Regions from separate parts of the Homo sapiens genome. Here all the other regions are linked to region 5. The links are contacts of gene promoters, found by promoter capture Hi-C in blood cells and fetal thymus (Javierre and others, 2016). All regions are on one chromosome and are shown on one strand. Each heading gives the region's core, a stretch centred on a gene start or on the middle of the fragment in contact. The rest is flanking DNA. Distances are from core to core; before and after follow the strand shown.

The links. The method cuts DNA at HindIII sites, captures the fragments that hold promoters and counts their contacts. A CHiCAGO score of 5 or more calls a contact.
Region 1: a fragment that was not itself captured here is called in contact with the fragment with the promoter of RAPH1 in region 5 in 1 of 17 cell types (monocytes); the score reaches 5.2 in monocytes.
Region 2: a fragment that was not itself captured here is called in contact with the fragment with the promoter of RAPH1 in region 5 in 5 of 17 cell types (monocytes, M0 macrophages, M1 macrophages and 2 more); the score reaches 11.3 in monocytes.
Region 3: a fragment that was not itself captured here is called in contact with the fragment with the promoter of RAPH1 in region 5 in 8 of 17 cell types (M2 macrophages, M0 macrophages, activated CD4 T cells and 5 more); the score reaches 8.1 in M2 macrophages.
Region 4: a fragment that was not itself captured here is called in contact with the fragment with the promoter of RAPH1 in region 5 in 1 of 17 cell types (non-activated CD4 T cells); the score reaches 5.4 in non-activated CD4 T cells.

Annotation. Positions count from the first base shown.
Region 1 is chr2:203,847,262-203,849,961 of GRCh38, forward strand. No RefSeq gene overlaps it. Among named protein-coding and RNA genes, the nearest start is that of CTLA4, 19 kb to the right of the region's middle. The HindIII fragment of the contact is 4,100 bases long and covers 1-2,700 here.
Region 2 is chr2:203,914,409-203,917,108 of GRCh38, forward strand. No RefSeq gene overlaps it. Among named protein-coding and RNA genes, the nearest start is that of ICOS, 21 kb to the right of the region's middle. The HindIII fragment of the contact is 2,054 bases long and covers 225-2,278 here.
Region 3 is chr2:203,804,696-203,807,395 of GRCh38, forward strand. No RefSeq gene overlaps it. Among named protein-coding and RNA genes, the nearest start is that of CTLA4, 62 kb to the right of the region's middle. The HindIII fragment of the contact is 943 bases long and covers 785-1,727 here.
Region 4 is chr2:203,826,594-203,829,293 of GRCh38, forward strand. No RefSeq gene overlaps it. Among named protein-coding and RNA genes, the nearest start is that of CTLA4, 40 kb to the right of the region's middle. The HindIII fragment of the contact is 3,441 bases long and covers 1-2,700 here.
Region 5 is chr2:203,533,950-203,536,649 of GRCh38, forward strand. It overlaps RAPH1 (Ras association (RalGDS/AF-6) and pleckstrin homology domains 1), which reads right to left and starts at 1,352. Exons shown (of 14, transcript NM_213589.3): 1 at 1,162-1,352. RefSeq lists silencers at 1,121-1,220, 1,291-1,380, 1,431-1,500. The HindIII fragment of the contact is 18,695 bases long and covers 1-2,700 here.

The sequences.
Region 1 (2,700 bases), core at 42-2,541, 310 kb after region 5:
ATATTATGCAAAGGTCAGGGACCTGGTGGGACCCTGTTGCAGAATACTGCAACATGGGATGGGGACATCTGGATGGCACCCTGAGGATGTTCATTCTTCAACCCCCTCAGATCCTCTGGGCTTGCAGATGTGGCTCACCTTCCATAGTAAAGGCTAGCAGTTCTACAGTGCTGGAAGATGCTATAGAAATCTCACCCCTGTAAGAGGTGCCACTTCAGAATCTGCCCCCACCTCCTCTCTTGCCTGCCAAGCCAATAACTAGGATTGAGGTCATGCTGGGCCTGGTAAGTTAAGAAAGAGACTCTATGCCTAAGGAATTGCAATAGTTTGCCAGCATTAATTGGCAGAAGCCAGGGGAATACTCCTAGGATTTGATTTTGAGGGTGCTTGATCAAAGAAGCTAAAATGTAAGACTAGATAAGCAAGAATTCATTGACCTAAGGGCACTTTCTTGAGACCTGATATTTAACACCCTAGAAAAGTTGTTGGGTGATAGGGCAAACTTATTGCTGGGTGGCTCTTAGAAGCCTGGATAAAAAAATAGCCAACTCTCATGAAGTGGAAGTGCCTGAATTACCGTGGCAGATGGTAGACGAATAAAGGGACTGAAGAGGTAGAGACGCTGGAATGGATATATTATGTGAGACCAGAAGACCCACCAAGAGGAGGTTGATGTTCCATGACAGGGACCAGAGGGAAAATCATTCACTAGGGTTATAAGGAATATGCTGGTGAGAGGGGCACGAGCACCACAGTGGTTTCCTCCTTTGCAGGTAAGGGATTATGGCAAGAGAGGTAGTCACAGAGTTGAGTTTGTTGACATCTATGAGGATGATGGAGCTCTGGGAAGCCAGGAGGCTGACTGTAAAAAGAAAAAAAAAATACAGGTAAAAGCAGAGGATCAGGAGACTGAGAACAACTGCTCTAATAAAAAGCCACAATCCTTTGTGCAGTTCCTGAACTTGAGCCAATTTTCAGATTTGTAACCCATTGACTGAAGAGGTGGCCTGGTACTAGGAGGAAAGACCCTTCAGCACTATGGCAAGAATATACTGAGATAATTCCCTCAGTCCTTCCCCAAGGGACTTATGATCCCTTACACGGATGAGGAAGAGGGGAACAACCACTCATGTTTGGGATTAATGGACACAGGGTCTGAGCTGACATCAGTACTTGGAGACCTAAAGTGTCATCATGGCACCCCTTGTTAGAATGACAGCCTGTGGGGGTCATGTAATAGATAGAATCCTAAGAACCCATCCAGAGGTGGTTGTTTTCCCAGTCCCTAAATGTACAATTGGAGTTGATATATTTGGAAATTGTAGTAACCTCCACATAGGTTTCCTGGTCTGTAGAATATGAGCTATTAAAGTAGGCTAAATTGAAACTTTTCAAATTGTCCAACATCTTTCTCACTTCATTCAAGATAATAAATCCAAAATATCATATATTTTGGAGTGAGAGGATGGTGAAGATAAATGCCATCATTAAAGGTCTAGAGGATGCAGGGGTGGTGGTTCCTACTTTATCTCTATTTAATTCACCAATCTCGTTCCGTAGAAACTGAACAGATTCTGGTGGTCCTCTAGACTGCCATAGACTTAATCAAGCATCAGCCCAAAGAGCAGTTGCTATCCCAGATGTGGTATCATTCCTAGAGCATTTTAATAAGGCCTCAGGTTCACGGTATGCAGACACTGATTTGGTGAATATGTTCTTTTACATTCCCATTAGAAAAGACGATCAGAAACAGTTTGCATTCATGTGGGAGGGACAACAATATTCATTTACAATTTTGTCTCAGGTCTATGTTTCTGCCACCCTCTGTGATGGTGAGTCTGAAGGAACTGGACTGCCTGAACACCCCACAGAACATCACTCTGATCTATTACATTGACAACATCACGATGATTGGACAAGTTGAGCAAGAGGTGACTAGTGTGTGGTGTCTTGGGAAAACATATGTGCTCTAGTGGTTGGGAAGTTTCAGTGAAGACTTTTAGAGGTTCAGTAGTCATGCGCATGCTGGGATATCCCCTCCAAAGCAAAAGAAAAATTGCTGCATCTTATATCCCCTATCACAAATAAAACAACATCTGGTAGGACTCTTTGAGTTCTGGAGGCAACACATCCCACATCTAGGGATATTGCTTCCACCCATGCTCCAGATGATATGGAAGGCTGCCAGCTTTGAGTACTGTTCAGAGCAGGAAAGGGCACCACAGCAGGTCCAGGCTGTGGTGCAGCACCCTGTGCTATTTGGGTCATGTAATCTGGCAGATCCTATTGTGTCAAAGGCATCAGTGGTAGAAAAGATGCAGTGTGGAGTATATGGTATGCTCCAGCAGGAGAATCATAATGAAGACCTTTGGGATTCTGGAGTCAGGCCCTTTTCAACAGGGAATAATATGTCCTTGGAGAAAAAGCTCTTGATTTGTTACTGGACCATGATAGAGGTAGAACCCTTGACCACAGGACTCCAAGTCACTGTGCATCTGGGACTTCTCATTATAAACTGGGTTCTATTGGCTTCACCAAGCCATAAAGTCATATGGACCCAGAAACAGTCCATCATAAGGTGGAAATACTAAATCTGAGATGGATCCAAGAAGAATGAGAGGATATGAGCAAGCTAAACAAACAGGTGGCCCAGACTCCCACATCACCCACCACAATTGCACCAGGGCCCCTCCCTCAGCT
Region 2 (2,700 bases), core at 2-2,501, 380 kb after region 5:
GATGAGGCAGTAAATGAAACTTCCAAAATCTGGTTTGCGTAATTTATGCCTTTGAAAGGCTGATATTATTGCATTAAATTCTGAGGGCATTTAGGAAAAACACTGCCACTGAAACTCTAAATAAATATATCCAACACAGCAATTTGAAAATGATTTGAGGGAAAGTAATTACTCGGTTTCCTTCTCTCCCACCATCGTTATGGATGGAGTTTGACAGGAAGGAAAGCTTTAACGGAGTTTTTCTCACTAGGAGGTAACATAAGCAAACTTTTTGACCTCAAACCTAAAAATAATGTCAAGTTCTGCATTTAGCTGCATCACACCTCTTCTCCGTTCTCACATTTCATAATATTAGTTGTCTTCTTTCTATATTTAGCTTTTGGAGCACACAAAGTAACGAATAGCTTCATGTTTTTACTAAATCTTACAAGTAGAGCAAGAAAAAGATTTTTTTTTTAAAAGTAAACAACCTCTGCATCTTCAGAGCAAAACCCACTCAGAAAACTTGTGCCACAAAACCTCACTACCACCACAGCGCCAGCTCAGGGACCCTGACAGACAGCTGGAGCTGTTTACCAGACAGGCCACCCTTTGATTCACATGGGCATTACAAGTCCATTGTTTGTTTGAATGGCGTAGGCAACAGAGCTGAGACAACTTTGATGGATAAGAGGTGAGAAGTTAGATGTTATTTTTTTTTTTTGTTACAGCAACAAGCAGCAGCAGCTAGTACTTATTGAGAAAATAAAACGTTAGGTTTTATGTCATACTAGGTTTATGTTAGCACATTAGTCGAAATGCTTTACTATGTTAACTTATTTAACACGATCCCACAACAAACTAACAGGAGATAGGTACTGTCATGATCTTCATTTTACAGATGAGAAAGTTGAACCTTGAGTGGTTCCCTTGCTTGCCCACGAACCTGCAGCTCGAGAGACTGCGAAGCCTGATTCAAACCCGAAAGGCCTGTCTCTGCAGCCAGCTCTTCATCTCTGCACTGGACAACCCGCCTCTCTGAAGGAAGCACGGTTGCTTCAACAGTTTGTAGCCAAGCAAAGAGTCTGTGAAGGGAATCCAGTTTTTCTATTTTGAAATCAAGTTGGATTTCACTGGAAGAATTCCTGGGCACTGGGTCTAATAAAAATCACATGTAAGGATGCAGGAAAACTTCTCATTTTATATATTTGAAGGAAAAACTCATTTGTATCCATGATCGTTAGCAACACAGTTCCTCAGTGAGTCAAGTAAAAATGAACATCTTTGGAAACTGAAACTAAAATAGGACAATATAAAACAAATGACTTTTATTACCCAGGACTTTTTAATCATTGAGTCTGAGATCTCTAAAACTTTAGCAATTTGGTTTTGATTTTTTTTTTTTTTTTTTTGAGACGGAGTCTCGCTCTGCTGCGCAGGCTGGAGTGCGGTGGCACGATCCTGGCCACCGCAACCTCCGCCTCTCAGGTTCAAGCAATTCTCCTGCCTCAGCCTCCCGAGTAGCTGGGATACAGGCGCCGGCCACCACGCCTGGCTAATTTTTATATTTTTAGTAGAGACGGGGTTTCACCATGTTGGCCAGGTTGGTCTCCAACTCCTGACCTCAGGTGATCCGCCCGCCTCGGCCTCCCAAAGTTTTGGAATTATGGGCGTGAGCCACCGCACCCAGCCTGATTTTCTTTCTTAAGTTTATTTTTTAGATTCACTCCCAAGCCTACTTGATGCTTTTATTCTAAGGCAGTGGGTTCCCAGGCACAAATTTCACAAAAGATTCCACTACCTTTTAGTAATTGCAATGGAAACAGGGGATATCTGGGTAGTATTTATTCCTATGGAGAGAAAAAAAGTATATGATTGTTTGAGGCTCTTTCTTTGCTTTGCTCTCCACTGCTGTTTAAACTTCCCCTGTTCATATAGGGCAGCGACCAACAACAAACTGAATAGACTAAACCTTAGTGAGCAGATCCTGCAAATTAAGGTGGTTGGGTTAGGTCAGGCTACGGCTTCAAAGAGATCCAGCTGTCTCCAATAAGGATCTATCAATAACCTTTGTTGGAGTAAGAATACCTGGTAGTCAGGTAAGGAACTGACTTCTATGATTCAGGGATCTTATCTTACCTCATTTTGTAATTTGAGTTCTTGTTCTTTTACCATCAGTTGAGTTTATTAGTGACTTTCCATACCTCTTTACCCAGTAAGTAGACCTTAATACAGTATCATTGTGCAGGAAGAGATGACACATTGAGTTCTAAAATGCCAAGTCCTTGCTTATAAATGAAGCTTTGTCCCACTAGTTGGTAGAAGAGTCAGTGGTTCAGCCCTACATCAATTCCCCCAAATGGCTGGCAAATAAATGTGCTAATTATTTTGTTGTCCCAAAAGATGCATCTGATGGCAGCTATTGATGGATTGGTAGGTAAGAAAGTGGCCATGACTTTGCCTTAGGTTGATATACACAAGTTGCAGCTTCAGGATGCTGACACAGTGGATTGATTTGGTTTTTTTGGTCTGGCAGAGAAATTCAGCTTTTTCTTTCTCTTTGAGTAAGTCTTTACCTTGGGAACTCTGGGAGTGGGTGTATTAATTTGTTAGGCTGCCACAACAAAGTATTATAGACTGGGTGGCTTAAACAACAGAAACTTCTCATAATGCTGGAGCCTAGAAGTGGAAGATCAAGGTGCTGTCAGGGTTGGATTTTCT
Region 3 (2,700 bases), core at 6-2,505, 270 kb after region 5:
AATAAGAAAGACCAGGTGTGGCAACTCATCCCTGTAATCTCAGCACATTGGGAAGCTGAGGCAGGAGGATCACTTGAACCCAGGAGTTTGAAACCAGACTGGGCAACATAGTGATACCCCATCTCAAAAAAGAAAAAAAAAGAAAGAAGGAGATGGCCTTAAGGTTTCTTGTCTTGGCACCAAAATGAAATCAGTGATGAGTGGGTGGAGGACTGGAGTTACTATGGGCAGTGCGTGGGGGAGATAAGAAGAAATTGCCCTAAAGATATGTCAGGTCTCTTTCTAAAGAGTAGGACTTGGACCAAGGAGAAGGAAGTGAGTCATGCAAGCACAGGGTCAGATCCTGTCTTCATTAAAAATGTGATATTTTGATAATGATTTTCTTGCATTCATTTTAATTCTTTAAAATATTACACGAAAATGTTATTTGATTAATTTTTTAGTGCTCCTTAAAATTTGTACCTGATACATCAACTCATGCTAGTTCCTGCCCTGCTAAAGGGAAACATTAATAAATGAGAAAAAATATTTATAGTTCATATTAAATATTGTTTGCATTCCGAACTCTACTTGGAAAGCAAAGCCATGTTCTCTAGGTCCACAGGTCCCAAGCTCTACCTCCCGTGGTTTCCCAAGGCCAGGGTGTGTGGAATTGAACATTTCACAATCTGGGGGAGACAACACAACTTTATGGTTTTTTCCTCTGGTTGCTTTGAAGATTTTCTCTTTATTTTAAGCAATTTGATAACATTATGCCTTCATGAAATTTTCTTCTTGTTTCCTAAGCTTGGTGTTGGTTGAGCTTCAAATCTGTGAGTTTATATCTTTAGACAAATTTACATCTAAAAAAATTAATTTAAAAATTTTTTCTGTCTTCACATTTTCCAACAGGAAAATAATATATAATTGGACTGCAATACTCCAATTATATGTGTATTGGACTGCTTAAAGGTGTCTGATGTTCTCTTCATTTTTCAGTGTGTTTTCTCCAGGAGTTTTATTATGCATGGTTCCTATGGCTATGCCGTCAAGTTCACTAATATTATTTTATTTGGTGTTGAATCCACTGTTTATCCTACCCAGTGTATTTTTTTCAGGTGTTGTAGTTTTCATTTCCAGAAGTTCTATTTGGGTCATTTAAATAGATCTCATGTCTCTTTTTAATGTGCTTAATCTTTCCTCCACCTTCTTGAACATATGGAATATAGTTACAATAACTACAATGACATGATCTCAGCTCACTGCACCCTTGACCTCCTGGGCTCAAGAGATCCTCCCACCTTAGCATCCTGAGTAGCTGGGACTATAGGAACATGCCACCACACCTGGCTAATTTTTGTATTTCTTGTAGAGCTGGGGTTTCACCATGTTGCCCAGGCTGGTCTGGAATGCCTGAGCTTAAGCTATCTGCCCACCTTGGTCTCCCAAAGTGCTAGGATTATAGGTGTGAGCCACTGAGCCTGACCATAACTACATGTCTTAATGTTTTTCTCTACTAATTCTAACATCTTTATCATTTCTGGGTCTGTTTCTACTGATCAATTTTTCTTTTCATTATGAGTTATATTTTCCTGTTTCTTTGCATACCCAGTAATTTGGATTGGATGCCAGATATTGTAAATTTTACCTTGTTGGGTATTGGTTTTTTTTATAGTCCCATAAATATTTTTAATGTTTGTTCTGAGATACATGTGCATTACTTGAAAACAATTTGAAGTTTGCTTTTAAGCTTTGTGAGGTGGGATGAGAGCTGCCTTTGGTATAAGGCTGATTTTTCTCACTACTGATTCCAGACTCCCAGCTCCATCTTCTCAACTAAATGAGACCTCCTCTCTGCATGGTATCTTGGAAATTTTCCAGGCTGTGAGCTGGAACAATCATAGAGCTCACCTTATTTGCTTTCCCGCTCTTAGAGATCACTGTCCTGTGCTGTCTGATGTTCAGTGTCTAAAAACTATACTTTCTGATATTTTGCCCATTTACTTTTTAGCATTTTTCAAGACAGGATCAATTAGGTCTTTGGTATTCCTCTTTGCCTGAAGTGAAAGTCTTGAACATTATGGCTTCTGACTGTGGTTGATGAGTAATATTTTTAGAGAACAAAATAAAGTATACCTTGAATGACCAATTAAAGCTTTCTGAATGGTTTAAGACACTTTAATAAAATTTACATCACCTATAAGTGTCAAAACAATTATAAATTTATACTCATAGTTTTCATATAACCCCTTAGTGAGTAGGTGTCAAAGTTTCATTTCTCATTAATGAGGTAATCAGAAGAATGATAAAGCCAGTGAGGAAAGTGACACAAAGAGAAGGCAAATGGCCAGGCACAGTGGCTCATGCCTGTAATCCCATCACTTTGGGAGGCCGAAGCAGGTGGATCACTTGAGCCCAGGAGTTTGAGGCCAGCCTGGGCAACATGGTGAAACCCTATCTCTACTACAAGTACAAAAATTAGCCAGGCGTGGTGGCACACACCTGTAAGCTCAGCTACTCAGGAGACTGAGGCATGAGAATCGCTTGAACCTGGGAGGTGGAGGTTGCAGTAAGCCGAGATGGCACCATTGGACTCCAGCCTGGATGACAGAGCAAGACTCTGTCTCAAAAAAAAAAAAGGAAGGGGGGGACAGGCAAATGACGTATTAGAAGGAGGAAGAGAGGCAGAGAGAGAGAAAGGGAGAGAGATGGGGAGAGAGA
Region 4 (2,700 bases), core at 150-2,649, 290 kb after region 5:
GACCCATGTAAGGCCCATATGATGTGTCAATGAAAGTTTAGAACAATGTGTAGAAAAATGGTACTTTTGAATTTACTTTTTGTCTAATCGGTGCACATTAAGATTTCTGTTTGGGTCTGGGAACCATTTCTTTGTAATCTTTATCATCAAATATGCTGTTCCTGGCTAAGTTAGCATCTTCCACCATGAGCAAAAGGTAGCGATGCTGTTCTTACTCACAACCCTAAAGCTCTTCAGAACCTGTTTGTATTAAAGCAATATAGATCTTCCAGCCTCTGTGGTTCCCTAATTTTATTTATTTAATGCTGATACAGCATTCTTCATGATACAGCATCATCCATCAGGCTGCCTGTGAGTATTGGACCATCTCCAAAGTTGTTATTGTGCTTCATTGAAGATGACCACAAATGCAAGTCTTACTCAGAGTATGTAGAAATGTGTGAATGATAATCTGTTTTCTGGTCATGTTCAGAATTTTATAGCATAATGTGGAATAGCTCATCTTCCAACCATGTCTTCTTTTGAACTTTTTAGGTAGTAATCACTGTATTCCCAGAATGTGACCTCCTTCAATAATGATTGCATCCCTGCCTTCCATACACTGCCATAAGAGGCAAGGAGAGGTGAGGGTCTCATGGGAAGAATAGAAGAGAGGTCTCATTCACATAAGGGATGTGTGGCCCATTTCAGGTACAACCTAACACTGTCCCTGGAGAGCATGACATCACCACATCAATTGAAAGCAAGTGAGAACATCATTTGGAAGCGCCTGTTGGTGGAGGGGACACTAGCAATGGGGGAGGGGTTCGACAAGGTTGGGTACCTGCTTTCATTCCTGCCTCCCTGAGTGTTGTAACCAGAGGTGGCACTGAGGTCAGAACACAGTCAGGTTAGAGCCCATGCATGGGCTTACTCATGTGGCTCAAGCCCTAAGGTCATGGTGGACTCTTAGTGTTCTATTGCTGCCATAACAAATTACCATACAGTGAGCAGCTTAAAACAACATCCATGATATGGTTTGGCTGTGTCCCTACTCAAATCTCATCTTGAATTGTAGCTCCCACAATTCCCAGGTGTTGTGGGAGGTAATTGAATCATGGGGGCAGGTCTTTCCCGTGCTATTCTTGTGATAGTGAATAAGTCTCATGAGATCTGATGGTTTTATAAAGGAGAGTTTCCCTGCACAAGTTCTTTTCTCTTGTCTGCCACCATGTGAGACATGCCTTTCACCTTCCGCCATGATTGCGAGGCCTCCCCAGCCATGTGGAACTGTGAGTCCATTAAACTGCTTTCTTTTGTAAATTGACCAGTCTCAGTTATGTCTTTATTAGCAGCATGAAAATGGACTAATACAATCTATTTTATTTTCTCACAGTCACGTAGGTCAGAAGTCCAGACACACATGGCTTGGCTGTTTCTTTTCTCTCATCCATTTTATTTTTTACTTTATTACTATTTTTTGAGACAGGGTCTTGTTCTGTCACCCAGGCTGGAGTGCAGTGGTACAATCTCAGCTCACTGCAGCCTCAACCTCCCGGGCTGAAGTGATCCTCCTGCTTCAGTCTCCCAAGTGACTAGGACTATAGATGTTTGCCACCATGCCCAGCTAATTAAATTATTTTTATTTTTATTTTTTATTTTTTGTAGAGACAGAGTCTCATCATGTTGCCCAGGCTGGCCATCCATTTTATTATCTCACAGTCTTGTAGCTTGCAAGTCCAGGCACACATGACTTGGCTGGTTCTCTGCCCCAGGTTTCATAAGGCAAAATCTAGGTGTGGGCTGGGCTGTGTTCCTTTCTTGAGATTCTGGGGATGAATCTGCTTTGAAGATCATTCCAGTTGTTGGCAGAATTCAGCTCCATGCAGTTGGAGAAATGAAGTTCCAATGTCCTTGATGGCTGTCTGCCTTGGATCCCCCTTTCTCCATTTTCAAAGCCAGTGGCAATGGATCTCATACCTTGAATCTCTCTGACTTTCCCTTCTGCCTCATTTCTCTTCTGTTTCCAGCTGAAGAGTGTTCTCTGCTTTTAACAGCTCATGTGATTAGATTGGCCCCACCTGGATAATCCAGGCTAATCTCCTGATTTAAAGTTGTACCCGCCAGGTGCGGTGGCTCAGGCCTGTAATCCCAGCACTTTGGGAGGCTGAGGCGGGTGGATTGCTTGAAGTCAGGAGTTTGAGACCAGCCTGGCCAACATGGTAAAAACTAGTCTCTACTAAAAATACAAAAATTAGCCGGGCATGATGGTGTGTGCCTGTAGTCCCAGCTACTCAGGAGGTTGAGGCAGAATTGCTTGAACTCAGGCGGTGGATGTTGCAGTGAGCCAAGATCGCACCACTGCACTCCAGCCTGGGCGACAGAGCAAGACTCAGTCTCAAAAATAAATAAATAAATAAATAAAAAAGTCTGTATCTTAATTACATCTGCAAAGTCCCTTTGCCATGAAACGTAACATATTCAGAGGTTGCAGGGATTAGAGCATGAATATCTTTGAAGGGTCATTATTCTGCCTACCACAAGGATTGCTGGTTGTTCTAAGGCCTGAACTCATCCTGGGTCTGATATGAGTGAAGTCCACCCTAAATCAGCATGTTGGCACTATTCTGGCAGCCCAATACTGCATGAATCCATGAAAGAAAAATCCCACTGGTCAGCAAGAGCAATCTACTTGCCAGAACACCCTCTTGGAATGAGATC
Region 5 (2,700 bases), core at 102-2,601:
CAATTCCAGGGCGTACGGTTTCCCCCACTCCGAAGAGCTCTTTCCACCACCCCATGCTTGTTCACCTGGTGTCACCCAGCCTAACTGACAGAGTAGGTATTCCATAAATGTTTGCTGAATTTAATATCCCCATGGACTGACTCTTTAATAATCCGATCACGCCTCATCCCTAACCCGTTACCTTTACTGTTCCTTAACGGTGGACTTTACCTACATAAGCAGCTCTCCACATTTCCCTGAGAAATGCTGCAGACAACATCAACCCTTATTGGAAGATTGAGTGAAGAACTTTTCCATTCTCCCGGATTTCCCCAACGGATCTTCCCAAAGAATTTAAGAAATGCACACACGCAAGACACATGTAACACTTACACCCTCCCTCAAGGCTCTTATTTCATATTAAACCATGTCTTCGAGCTTGTAAGCAATAAGGTTTATGCGGTTTCCAGCTCACACAGTGGGGACACCCTAAGTCACTGCCTTAAGAAAACCACATCTTTCAACCTGTCTTAACACGAAGGCATCCTAATACTATCACACTGCCCCCTCCCTCCGTCCACCCCCCCCCCCCCCCCATGAATTGCAGTTTGGATTTCCGGCGGGAATGTATAATACAGACCGCAAGAGGAGACGCGGTTAAAAAGCAATGAAGCAATTACTTATCCTGTTTAATTAGAAAGAAGACACAGAAGGAGCCCCGCCTTTCAAAATCTCTGCACTGAACTCATCTATGAAAGATGGGGGCATCGAAACCCAAGCAACCCGACATCCAGTAGCTGGTTTCTGCAGCTGGGCGGGGGAAAGTCCTTTCCTCCCTGCGGTCCCGGGCCACCAGCCCCCGGTGCTGGGTCGGAGAAGCCTAACCGCACCCTCCCAGGCGGCCCCTTATCTCATTGTCTCCCTCCGTCGCGGTCCCCAGGGGCGCAGGGTGCAGTCCAGGCCCCACCGACCTCCATCCACCAGCCGGGAGCGGTCCAGCCAGCCCCGGCCCGATCCCCAACCTGGCAACGACCCCGCCCCAGGCTGCCGCCGACCGTACCGCACCCGGATGGCGGGGCCGGGCGCCGGGAAAATGGAGGCGGGAGCGGCAGGAGCGCCTCACGGCCCCGCGCCCAGCCGGCTCCCTACCCCCTGGCCCCGAGGGCGAGGCTAACCACTCACCGCGGCAGTCGGTCGGCCTTCCCGCGGCCCCGGGCAAGGAAACCGCCGCTCGCGCTCCTCCAGCCGCTGCCTCCGCCTCCTCCCCAGGCGCGGCGCTCCCTCGCCAGAGACGCAGCGACTGCCAGCAGCTCCCGCGCCGCGCGCTCAGTGACTGACTGACTGACTGACTGACTGACTGACTGACTGACTGGCGGGCGGCGGCGGGAGCGGGGGCGGGGCGGCCGCAGCGCCCCGCGGCGGCGGCGGCGGCGGCGGAGCCGAGTGTGCTCGCGTCCAGCCGAGACGCAGAAGGCGGGGTTGAGGGCCGGACTGCCGACTGTAGGGCCGACTCGCGCGGGACCGCGCGCCGCCCCCGCCCGCCGCCAACCACTCACTTCCGGCGCAGGCCGCCGCGCCCGCCGCCCTTCCCTAGCCCGCGCCCCGCGCCGGCCCTCCGCCCTCCCTTCAGGCGCCCGGCCGCGCCCGGCCGCACTCAACCGCGGCTCCGCTCGTGCCTCGCCTTTCCTCCGCAAGTCCCTGTGAGCCGCCTACAGGAACGAGTGAATCAGAGAATGAATGAGTGGGGAGGAAAATCCCAGTGCTGCCCCACCCCCTGCTCGCCTTTCATAGGAAGCCGGCCCAGCAGCCTCTGTCCTAGCGCCCTGGGAGGCACAGCAGCCTCCAGCAGTTCTGTCAGGGAGCTGTACGCATCCACCTTTATACGCTGTCCGTGTATTCAGAGACTCCAGAAACGCATCCGGGGTTGGCTCGGTCACTTACAGGACCATTGTCGTTGAGATCTGTGAGGCCCTTCTTTAGGAAATCCCATTTTGGCCAAAAAGTCTCTGCAGTTTCATGGAATGTATTGGGAAACTTAGGAACGGGACATTTCGATGACCTTTACTTTTTAAACTTCGAAATCTGTTAATCCTGCCTCCTTAATTTCTGTCCCCCCACCCCATCGGAATTGTGTAGTAGTAAGGTGTCGGCATTTTTCCTTATCGCTAAGCTCAGCTGCTGCCTCTTTAGATGCAGGCTTGACTTCGGCAGACTTTTAGATTTTAAGTATGTCCTTATTTTGACCTTCACCTAAAGTTGATCAAAGAAAGGAACAAATGGAACTAAGTTATGTTTGCTTGGCTACATGCAAAGCAAGTTTGTTGACAGCATTAAAACAATTGAGAAATTGGGAGTGTGACCTGAAATTGGTTGCAATGAACATTGCTTTTTCATGTCTTCCCATCTGCTTGCTAAGAATTTATTTAAATTTTCACAAAGCATTGACTGTACATTCCTGAAATCCTAGCTCCCTCTCTAAGAATGAGAGTGTTCATTTCTCTGTCCTGGGGCCAAATCCTGGTTTGGTTAATTACATTCTTACTTCCTGATATTCTTGAGGACTTTCAAGTGGTTTCAGTCTTTTTTGTACAATCTGTTCCAAACTGGTACACAATCTGTTTCAAATTGGTATTTAGAACCATACAATACAGATACTGGCTGCCTTTCACACTTGAGATATCTGTACTTTTGAAACATAACTGCCCTTTTGTATTTTAAGTT